Linked DNA regions of Homo sapiens: region 1 is linked to region 2. Evidence: promoter capture Hi-C in 16 types of primary human blood cells and fetal thymus (Javierre and others, 2016). All regions are on one chromosome and are shown on one strand. Each heading gives the region's core, a stretch centred on a gene start or on the middle of the fragment in contact. The rest is flanking DNA. Distances are from core to core; before and after follow the strand shown.

The links. The method cuts DNA at HindIII sites, captures the fragments that hold promoters and counts their contacts. A CHiCAGO score of 5 or more calls a contact.
Region 1: the fragment with the promoter of CYP11A1 here is called in contact with the fragment with the promoter of FAM219B in region 2 in 1 of 17 cell types (M2 macrophages); the score reaches 5.5 in M2 macrophages.

The regions. Positions count from the first base shown.
Region 1 is chr15:74,363,673-74,369,021 of GRCh38, forward strand. CYP11A1 (cytochrome P450 family 11 subfamily A member 1) reads right to left here and starts at 3,974. Exons shown (of 9, transcript NM_000781.3): 1 at 3,645-3,974. The coding sequence starts at 3,913. It overlaps LOC124903524 (a long non-coding RNA gene), which reads left to right and starts at 1,790. Exons shown (of 2, transcript XR_007064709.1): 1 at 1,790-1,833; 2 at 1,990-5,349. RefSeq lists a silencer at 2,357-2,516, a promoter at 3,924-5,349 and an enhancer at 4,106-4,130. The HindIII fragment of the contact is 5,873 bases long and covers 449-5,349 here.
Region 2 is chr15:74,903,867-74,908,679 of GRCh38, forward strand. It overlaps FAM219B (family with sequence similarity 219 member B), which reads right to left and starts at 2,985. Exons shown (of 5, transcript NM_020447.5): 1 at 2,721-2,985; 2 at 2,412-2,499; 3 at 1,288-1,365; 4 at 798-846. The coding sequence starts at 2,934. RefSeq lists enhancers at 1,595-2,401, 2,402-3,206, 3,048-3,327 and a silencer at 2,688-2,987. The HindIII fragment of the contact is 3,941 bases long and covers 123-4,063 here.

The DNA.
Region 1 (5,349 bases), core at 2,724-5,223, 540 kb before region 2:
TAGAATGTCATATGGTCTCTCTTCAACTGGAATAACAGGAGCTCAAAGAAATATGCAACCATGAGGACACCATAACCTATAAATGACATGCTGAGACCAGAAACCCAAAATGATGGTAACTGAGAGTGGCACTGAGGCCCTAGGTTTTGGTCACACTCTCACCTAAGTGAAAACCTGATCAAAAAGGGAATTTTTTTCAACAAAATTCTGGGAGGCCGTTGTTTTGGACTGATCTCATGCACTAGGCCCCAACAAACCAAACAAAACCAAAATGGGGCCACTCATGCCAAGACTTTAAGGAAACACATAGATTCTAGAAAAGACTAGGTTTTGTTTTTTCTTCTGCAAATCACTACAACAAACATTTCTGACAGTATAGGTATCCACCCCCTAAAGTTTCCATTAAATCTTTTAACCAAATTCATTTCCTCTCACCTAGAGACCATCAAGCTTCAGATGATCATGTAACAAAGGTTCCAGCCAGTTCCAAGTGAAGACACCACCCCTGGACATCAAGAAGCTACCCTTCCTCCACTAGATAGAGCAGGGTGAGAGTTCCATGATCCCCAATAGGTAGGGACTATGCCCCAAGCCAGCATGAAGCAGTTACAGAAAAAAGACCATCGGTCCCTCTGCCTCCCATAAAGATTTATGGGGATCACATCTCTTGAAGGGGCAGATGAGGCAGGAAAATAGGGTCTGAAGTGTGAAGATCGATTCACACTTCAGCTATAACAGGAAATATCCTCTCCATAGGGTGTATGACTATGTAACTTGAATACTTCATCCTCTCCATTTACATAAGGTGTATCTGAAGTAACCAATGGAATCCTCTGGGGGTAAATGCCCCACAATTCTGTAACGGGACCTTTGAGCCCCTACGCTCCGCCTGCTCCCACACTGTGGTGTGTATGTTCATTTTCAATAAATCCCTTCATTCCTTCCTTACTTTGTCTGTGCATTTTGTCCAATTCTTTGTTCAAGACGCCAAGAACCTGGACACCCTCCACCGGTAACAAAGGGGCTTAATAAAATAAGGAGTTGCTACTGAGGGTCTAGGAAGTGGTGAAAAGGGAAGAGAGGAGGAAGCAAGGATAACTAGAGATCTATGTGAAGTGAGCACGGGACAGAAGCACTAATAGGCCTAGGAGAGAGGGGGAGGAAGGAGAGACCCAGCGGGGCGCAACCTCCCAAGCCCAGCACTCAACCTTGAATAGGGTGGGGTGCGGGGTGGGGGGAGCTCCCTGCCACCAACCAGCTATCAAAAGGGGCAGTTTGGACTTTAAAGGAGTTGTGAGAGAGGGAGGGAGCAGCTGAAGCCCCAACACAAACTAGCCTGCCTTCTCACCCACCCCCAGCCCAGTCATCAAGCCGGCCAACACATCTTACCCTTCCCTCTTCGTGACTGACCCATTGGAATGCTCTGAGTTGTAAAGACCTTTCACTTAAAGGAAAACGTACTGTCCCTCCTGGTCTCCCCTCCCAGCCCCCAACCACCCCTGCGCCACCTCCGTTCCCTCTCAACCGGACTCTTAGCAAAGAACCCAGGTGTGGCTGAAAGGCTGCCCACCGTGGGAACAGCTTTAGCAGTTTTCCCAGGAAAAAGCCACAAGCCCTGGAGGCACAGAGGCCCAAAGACAAAAAAAAAAAAAAAAGGCCTTTCCTCCTAGCAGGAAGCAAGCCCGATTCTTGGGAAAGGGAAGGGACAGACTCAGAGCCTCAGGGCCAAGGGGTGAGATCCAGCACCCCAGCAGGACAGGAATCTAGCTGGGTGACCTCTCTGAGCCTCAGTCTCCTCCTCTGACCATGGGGACAACAAACTTCGCTTGCAAGGTGTGCGGAGGGTAACGGATGTAGGGAGGCATTTAGTAGGGCTTGTTCTCTAACCACCTCTCTCCGAGAGTTTCAAAGGGAGTGGGATCTGGGGAAGGTTGAGGCCTCAGGCCTGGGAACTAGGAATACTTTCCCTTTTACCCACCACCATCCCAGGCCTGGAAGAAGATCAGAAGTTGGACAGGAGAGGTCCGGCCGCGCGGACGTCACCTTAGCGCGCCACTGTCGGCTCCGGTGGGCTCGGGTGAGCTCGGGTGAACGCAGCGAGCGAGGGCAGAGGCCAGCAGAGGCGAGGAGTGGATGCTGCAGGGCCGCAGGCCGGGCAGAGAAACGCATACCGGGTCGCTCCCTGCTTCGCCGCCGCCTCCTGGCAGGGCCAGCGAAGCCAGTGCTCCAGCGCCCCCGTAACACCTCAAAGCGCACGGAGTCCGTGTTGGGGAACTTGGCGGCAGAGTGACTGGGACCTAGGACCTGCGGTGGGGCCGCCGCCGCCTCCGCGGGGCCGAGCGCCTGGACCTCGCCCTGAGGTAAACGCGGGTCGACCCGGGGGGCGGATGGGCTCGGGCTGTGTCGAGGGGAGGCGGAGGTGAGCGACCCGCGAAGAGCGCAGGAGCAGGCCGGGGGCCACGCTAGGGCGGACCCAATTTCGGAATAGCGCGGCCCGGGCGGCGGCGTGCGCTGGGAGGAATGCTGGGTCTGTCGCTAGCGCCAAACTTGACCACGCTGCGACCTTTTCACTCTGTGCTCTGACCTTCAAATCTCCCTCCCCCGATTTTTTTTTTTTTTTTTTTTTTGAGACAGAGTTTCGCTTTTGTTGCCCAGGGCGGGAGTGCAGTGACATGATCTCGGCTCACTGCAACCTCCACCTCCTGGGTTCGGGCGAGTGTCCTGCCTCAGCCTCCCGAGTAGCTGGGATTATAGACCCCCGCCACCATGCCCGGCTAATTTTTTTTATTTTATTTATTTATTTATTTATTTATTTATTTATTTTTGTAGTAGAGACAGGGTTTCACCATGTTGGCCGGGTTGATCTCGAACTCCTGTCCTCAAGTGATCCGCCTGCCTCAGCCTCCCAAAGTGCTGGGATTACAAGCGTGAGCCACCGCACCCGGCCTTCTCCCAATTTTTAAAACTCGCTGGCTGGGCTGACAGCTACAGGGCCAGGAATTCAAAACTTAGCCTCACCAGTCTCCCCTCCTCAGACCGAGGAGGTTGTTTTGTTTTGTTTGAGACAGAATCTCACTCTGTCGCCCAGGCTGGATTGCAATGGTGCGATCTCGGCTCACTGCAACCTCTGCCTCTCCGGTTCAAGCCATTCTCCTGCTTCAGCCTCCCGAGTAGCTGGGATTACAGGCGCCTGCCACCACACCCAGCTAATTTTTGTATTTTTAGTAGAGACGGGGTTTCATCATGTTGGCCAGGATGGTCTCGAACTCTTGATCTCAAGTGATCCGCCCACCTCGGCCTCCCAAAGTGCTGGGATTATGGGTGTGAGCCACCATGCCTGGCCAGACCTGGGGTTTGGACCCATTAAAGAGCTTCCTTACAGATGGCTGGCGGTCTTGCCACCAATTGTTTCAAAAGTAGATGTCTGGTTTAGAGTACTTAAGACATTCACAGATTCAAATGTTGAATTTTGAAATATCCCTGATATATTTCTGTATTGTATTACCAAAAAAAAAAAAAAAAAAGAAGTTAGACAGGAGTTTGGAACCAGAGAACAGCCTGTTGGGGGAGTGGGGACTACAGCAGGGCTACCCAGGCCCCTCCTCCTCCCTGTCCCTTCGGCTCCCACCCTCTGCCAGGCTTACCTGTAAATCGGGCCATACTTCTGGAAATTCTGGACATGGTGAAGGTGGACTTTGTGTGTGCCCGTCTCCCTCCAGAAATGGTACAGGTTTAGCCAGCCATTGTCACCAGGAGAGGGGATCTCATTGAAGGGGCGAGGACTGCGGGTGGAGATGCCAGCTCCCTCGCCAGTGGGCACCCTGAGACGCCCCAGCCCCTCCCTGGGGGCACTCAGAAAGGTCTGGCAGCCTTTGACCAGGACTGAGCGTGGGGGAAGACCCTTGGCCAGCATGCTGTCCCCACAGCTGTGACTGTACCTGCTCCACTTCAGCGGGGACTGCTAGGATGACTGTAGCCCTGGGCCACCAGGGCCAAGATTATAACTACCAGCTCAAGGCCATACCAGAAGCTGATAAAATGTTCACGTCCTTCCTCCTGCTGCAGGCTCAAACCCGCAGACAGCTCCTCCCCTACTCGGTATGAAGGTTCAGTCTGGAATTTCTGCAGCGTGAGGTTCTCCAAAGGACAGGGAGACCCCTCTGTCTCTGCCCTCAGTGCCAGCCCTAGCAGACTCCTGAAATATCTGCCTGTGCTTTTGCCTGAGCTGGGGCCTCCCACTGGCCCCTGCAGCGGAGTCCATGCCCTGGCAGCCATTGGTCAAGACTGCAGACAACCTGTGTTTGGGGGAAATGAGGGGCCCAAGAGAAGGTCAGAGCTATCTTGCCAGCTTGGGCAACATACGTCTTAGTTATGGCCCCACTGTATAGACACACATCATTGAACAACAGGGATAAGTTCTGAGAAATGCATCCTTAGGCTATTTTATTTTATTTTATTTTATTTTATTTTATTTTATTTTAAGAGAGTTTCATTCTTGTTGCCCAGGCTGGAGCGCAATGGCACAGTTTCACCTTGGAACCCTAATCCTCGTCGTCTCTCCCCAGTTGACCCAGATTTGGGGCTGTAATTCAGTACAGCTGACTCAGAGGGGCTCTGGGTCCCTTGAGCTGAGGTCTGTGGTCAGGCTCCACTCTGGACACACTCTAAGACCTTGGCAAATCTGGTTGCCATGGAACTCAGGATGTCAGCTCTTCCCTGTCCACACACTTGATCTGTGCTGCTTTCCCCTCAGAGCTGCTTCCATACCCCCTCCCATCATATCATATCCCCAGACCCATCCTTCCAGCCCAGGTCAGCCCCCACACCCACCCCCCATCACCCTGCACCTACCACTTTCCCAAACAACAAGGGTCAGTCACCTGTAGAGTTTTCAAGTCATTTCAACAAAATTACAGCCCACTTGGTAAAAATGTGTAGGTCAGAAAACATACATGTGCCATGTAGAGCATTTCATGACAGCAATCTACACTATACCTTATACTTATCATTGGAAGGTACAACTTCTTGCTTTTTTTCCCCAAAATCTTATTTTCTGGCAAATAAGGCATTTAAAACACACATCTAAGAGACAGAAAATAGACTGGTGGTTGCTTAGAGCTAGGGGGATAGAGGAATTAGAGGATGGGACATAAAGTGTGTAGGGATTCTTAGGATGATGAAAATGAAAATATTCTAAAGTATATTGTGGTAATTATTGAACAACTCTCTGATACACTAAAAGCCATTGAATTGCATACTTTAAATGGGTGAATTGTATGGTGTGTGAATTATATCTCAATAGAGCTGTTACCAAACACACACACACACACACACACACGAGTGACATCC
Region 2 (4,813 bases), core at 1,735-4,234:
TTTCTATCTGGGACAGTCACTCTAGAAAAATGTCTACATGGCTATCCCAGGAGTGTTTTAGCCTGAGTTTTCATAGATGGAACAACTGAAGAAACAGAAGTTGTTTGGTCTGGAAGAAAGCAAGCTTGGTGAAAGATGGGCAGGGGAGAGACGGAAATGCTGATCTCAGAGAAACTAGAGTTGCTGTGTGACACTGGAAAGCAGGTCAAGGACCAATGGACCCATTCAGATTAATAAGGAAGATTTCTCTAACAGCTACTCAAAGAAAAAATTCTGTGTGTGTTGAGGGAAGGGTGGGTAGCAAGGCTCCTTGGAGGTGGTCAGTACCCAATTACAAAAAGCATTCAAGTAAGCACAGACTAGCAAACACTTAGCTGGGATCTATCAAAAGGGTTCCTTTTGTAAGCTGTGGCCTAGAAGACTTTTATTTTAGAGTCTTATTTTAGAGACAGGGTCTTGCTATATTGTCCAGGCTGGTCTTGGAACTCCTGGGCTCAAGCAATCCTCCTGCCTCAGCCTCCCTAGTAGCTGGGACTACAGGCATGTACCACCATGCCCAGCTTACATGACTTCTGAGATCATTTCTAGCCCTGAGTCTAAATGGTCTCCTCGATTCTCAACAGCCCTCCTTGGTCACCTATACCTCCACCGGGGGAAGAGGGCAGAGTGGAAGATCGTAGAACAGACCAGAAGTCTGGCACAGTGCTGTGCTCACAGCGGGCACCAAACAAGCATTTGGCAGTGGTGGTAATGCTGCCTGCAGCCTGGCCCTGCACAGAAAGGTGTTCTGGACTTGCCTCTGCAGATGAATACCCGGAGGAGTATCTGGATCCCAGCTCCCCATCACTAGGAGAAGAGGAAAACAGTCAGTTCCGGGAGGTACCTGTGGTGCACAGCTGTAAATCATCAGGCGGAGAGCATGCAAGGGCATCTGGAAGACTTTTGAAGCAAAGGCCACACACAACAGAACTCAAGTCCGAACAGGCCTTGAATAATACTGGTTCCCTCAATTGGTTCTGGCAGGGACAGGGTCACTCTCACTAACAATGCAAACATAACAGGGCAGGATGATCCCCCGGACATTGGTGCTCCGAATTCTAGAGCAGCACGATTACCTATGAGTCTTCTAACCAAGCCATCCTGGGAAGGGATATTGTTCAGAAGAGAACGGCCCTGGAATGTACATGAAGGGCCTTGGAGGAGACAGGGAACAAGCAAAGGCATCAGGCGATCTTCAGTCCCAGCCAAGTTGCTTCCCAAGGGGGTATTTCCAAGGGGAGCACTCACCTGTCAGAGTCGAGGGACACCAGGTTTTCATCTGGACTCTGGCTAAGAGCAGTATAGCCCTTGTTAAACTTCACTGACCTGAGGGGAGACGGGGGAGAAGAGACCAAACATAGATGAAAGCATAGGCATTTCACAGGGATAGGCAGAGTCCTCGCCCTGAAGGAGAAAGAATTGACTGCACTACTGACTTGCCTTCTCCCTGGTCACAGCCACCACTGCCTGCAGCTCCATGTACCTGGCTACAGTGCCTCAGAATGTGTATGTTCTCATTCTTTTTTTCTTTTTTTGGAGACAGAGTCTGGCCCTGTCACCCAGGCTGCAGTGCAGTGGCGCGATCTCGGCTCACTGCAATCTCCGCCTACCATGCTCAAGTGATTTTCCTGCCTCAGCCTCTTGAGTAGCTGGGACTACAGGCGTGCCCAGCTAATTTTGTATTTTTAATAGAGACGGGCTTTCACCATGTTGGCCAGGCTGGTCTCGAACTCCTGACTTCAAGTGATCCACCCGCCTCGGCTTCCCAAAGTGCTGGAATTACAGTCGTGAGCCACCACGCCCGGCCTGTATTCTACTCCTCCCATAGGTCTTGGAAAAAAGCACACCTCCCCTTGCCTGATCTAGGAAAAGCACCCTCTCCCCACTTATTTAATCAGAGGACACAAAAACTGCAAGTCTTTGGGTAAAAGGTTAGGGTTAACCTTCACTTCTCCGAGTTTCAACCCTCATCTGTAAAAGGAGGCACTGAATAAGGTTCTATGCAGCTCCGAGTTTACTATTCTGTTAAAAACAAACAAACAAAAACAGGTCTAGCCATTCCCACACTGCTCTTCGTCCTCATTGCTGGGGACTCCAGCCACCATTCTCCTCCCTAACAGAGGAGGAGAATGATAGTGAATGAGCCTGTGCACTCACAGAACTCCCTTATTCCGAAGCCCTTTATCTGATCCTATCACATCCTTAAAGGAAAAGAGAGATTGTTCCTCTTCCCATTTTAAAGATAGTGAACCTGACAGGTTGCATCAGGGGAATCGCTAGCTCGGCCTTAAACCAGAGCACCCTGCCTCCGTCCTGGGGATTAAAGCCTTCTCTAAAGCTGCTGGCACAGAGGAGGTGGCGCCTGCTGAGACCTTTTCCCTGAAGAGTCTGGGCGGTTCGGCGAGGCCCCCAGCATGCCTTTTCTCCGCAGAACGGCCTTGGCCAGGTCCCGGTGCTTCTCTGGAAGTTAAAGGACCCGGGTCAGCCGGGTCTTCCCCACTCCGCCGCGTCTCCCGAAGGCTGGGAGGCCGCTCTTTCCGAACGGATTTTGAGGGGCGAGAGCAGGCTGCAGCTAACCCCTTCCCTCCGGGGCCGAGGCCCAGCGGAGCTCCGGAACCCGCCCTGGGGACGCGGCCGCCCGCCCAGGGAGAAACCTCCCCCGACCATCGGGCCACACTCACGCAGCTTGGCTTGAATGGAGGGTGCGCGCGTCACCATGTATGGCCCCCGCTTTTCCACGGCCGCGGGGGTGCGCTCCCCCAGACGGAGGGCTCTATTACCGATCTGCCCGGAGGGTGGCCCCGCAGCTCCCGGCGCGCGGTCCCGAGCCCCGCTGGGCCGGGGTCCCGGGGTAGACAACCGCAACGCGCGCCCGCTGGGCTCCGCGGTCGCCATGGCCGGGCCCCGCCCTGCCGGATGGTGCAACCCCGCCCGTGGCGAAAGAGTGACCGGCCGAGGGAGAGGCGGGCTCTTTTAACAAGATGGCGGTGCGCAGGCGCAGGTAGTCCCCTTTCGGAGCTCTCCGGTTCGGTAGTCTGAGGACTTGGCCGAAATGTTCCGCCCTTCTTTTCGGGGGGACCGGGCAGTTCCGTTCTCGGTTTTGGGGTAGGCGGCTTGAGCCTGGTGATGGTTAGGCTTAGTTCTGTCTCTAGTGGAAATTAAATACTGATACTGTCGTGGGGCTGCGCGTGTGCGTCGGTCGGGTGCCCACGGTTTGAGTCCTGGCGCGCCGCACTCTGTGCTTCTCGCAGTGTCTCCTTGGGGGTCTCCCCACATGTGGGGCTGCCAGAGAGCAGACTTGGGTTGAAGAGTCATATGAGGACAAGCGTTATCAGCGACCTTTTCTAGCAAAAGAAACAGGCCCCAGAAGTTAAAGAACCTTGTGAAGGTGACACATCTAGAGGCAGTGCTTGCGCTGATCCATCTGACGCCAAACCCCACCTTCTTTCCAACACCAATTGGTGCCTGTGACATTGGACAGGACCTGACCCTCTCTAGGCCTCAGTTTCCACATTTAAAAATAGAGCCAATGTCACTACTCATTGTACAGTGAGGCAAATAGGCGTTGAAAAGGAGGGTGAAAGTGCACTCTGAGTCTGTGTGTGGTAGGCTATGTGTCAGGGCTCTTGACTTCTCTAGCCCCCAAGGGATGTGCTTGTGACTGGCTGGAAAGAAACTCCAGATCCTTGTAGAACTCCCAAATCTCATGAGGCTGTCCCTTGACTAACTTACTGGCTTCAATAGGGTAGGTCAACAGTGTGCAACCTCCGAGCTCCCAGGGCCACGCAGACCGTTGGGTGGCACTATGCCTTGGGCAAGAGAGGTGAAAAGGAAGAATTTAGGGCTGAAGTTTTCAAAAATCAAAAGCACAAAGGAATCCTTACCATTTTGGTAGATTCCCCCCACTCCCCATGATGTTAGACTGTTTTTGCCTCCAGAAACAGCAGGTTCATATAGCTCAACTTAGTATTTAATGGTTATAACCTCCCAATGAAGCCAATAGTTATTCTTGTTAAACAAATGAAGCTTAGACTTGGTCAAGTTTACCAGTTAAGTGATAAACCTGGAATTTGTACCCAGTTGCCTGTGGACTCCAAAGAAGTAGTTTTCTGGCCGGGCACAGTGGCTCACATCTGTAATCCCAGCACTTTGGGAGGCTGAGGCAGGCGGATCACCCGAGGTAGGGAGTTCAAGACCAGCTTGGCCAACATGGTGAAACCCCATCTCTACTGAAAATACAAAATTAGCCGGGCGTGGTGGCGGGTGCCTATAATCCTAGCTATTCAGGGGCTGAGGCAGGAGAATCGCTTGAACCCAGGAGGCGGAGGTTGCAGTGAGCCGAGATCAGGCCACTGCACTCCAGCCTAGGCAACAGAGCAAGACGCTGTCTCAAAAACAACCAACCAACCACCCCCCAGCCAAAAAAAAAAAAAAAAAAAACCAACAAAAAAACAACGAAGTGGTTTTCTCCTGGTTATGCTGATGTGGACATCACCAAGGGCCAAAGAAAATGTGATTTAAACCAGCAGTCTCCAGCCTTTTTGGCACTAGGGGTTGGTTTTGTGGAAGACAGTTTTTCCACGGGGTGGAAATGCGGGGGCTGGTTTTGGGATGATTCAAGCACATTTATTGTGCACTTTATTATTACATTACAATATATAATGAAATAATTATACAACTCAACTTAGAATCAGTAGGAGCCCCAAGCTTGTTTTCCTGCAACTAGACGGTCCCATCTGGGTGTGATGGGAGACAATGACAGATCATCAGGCAT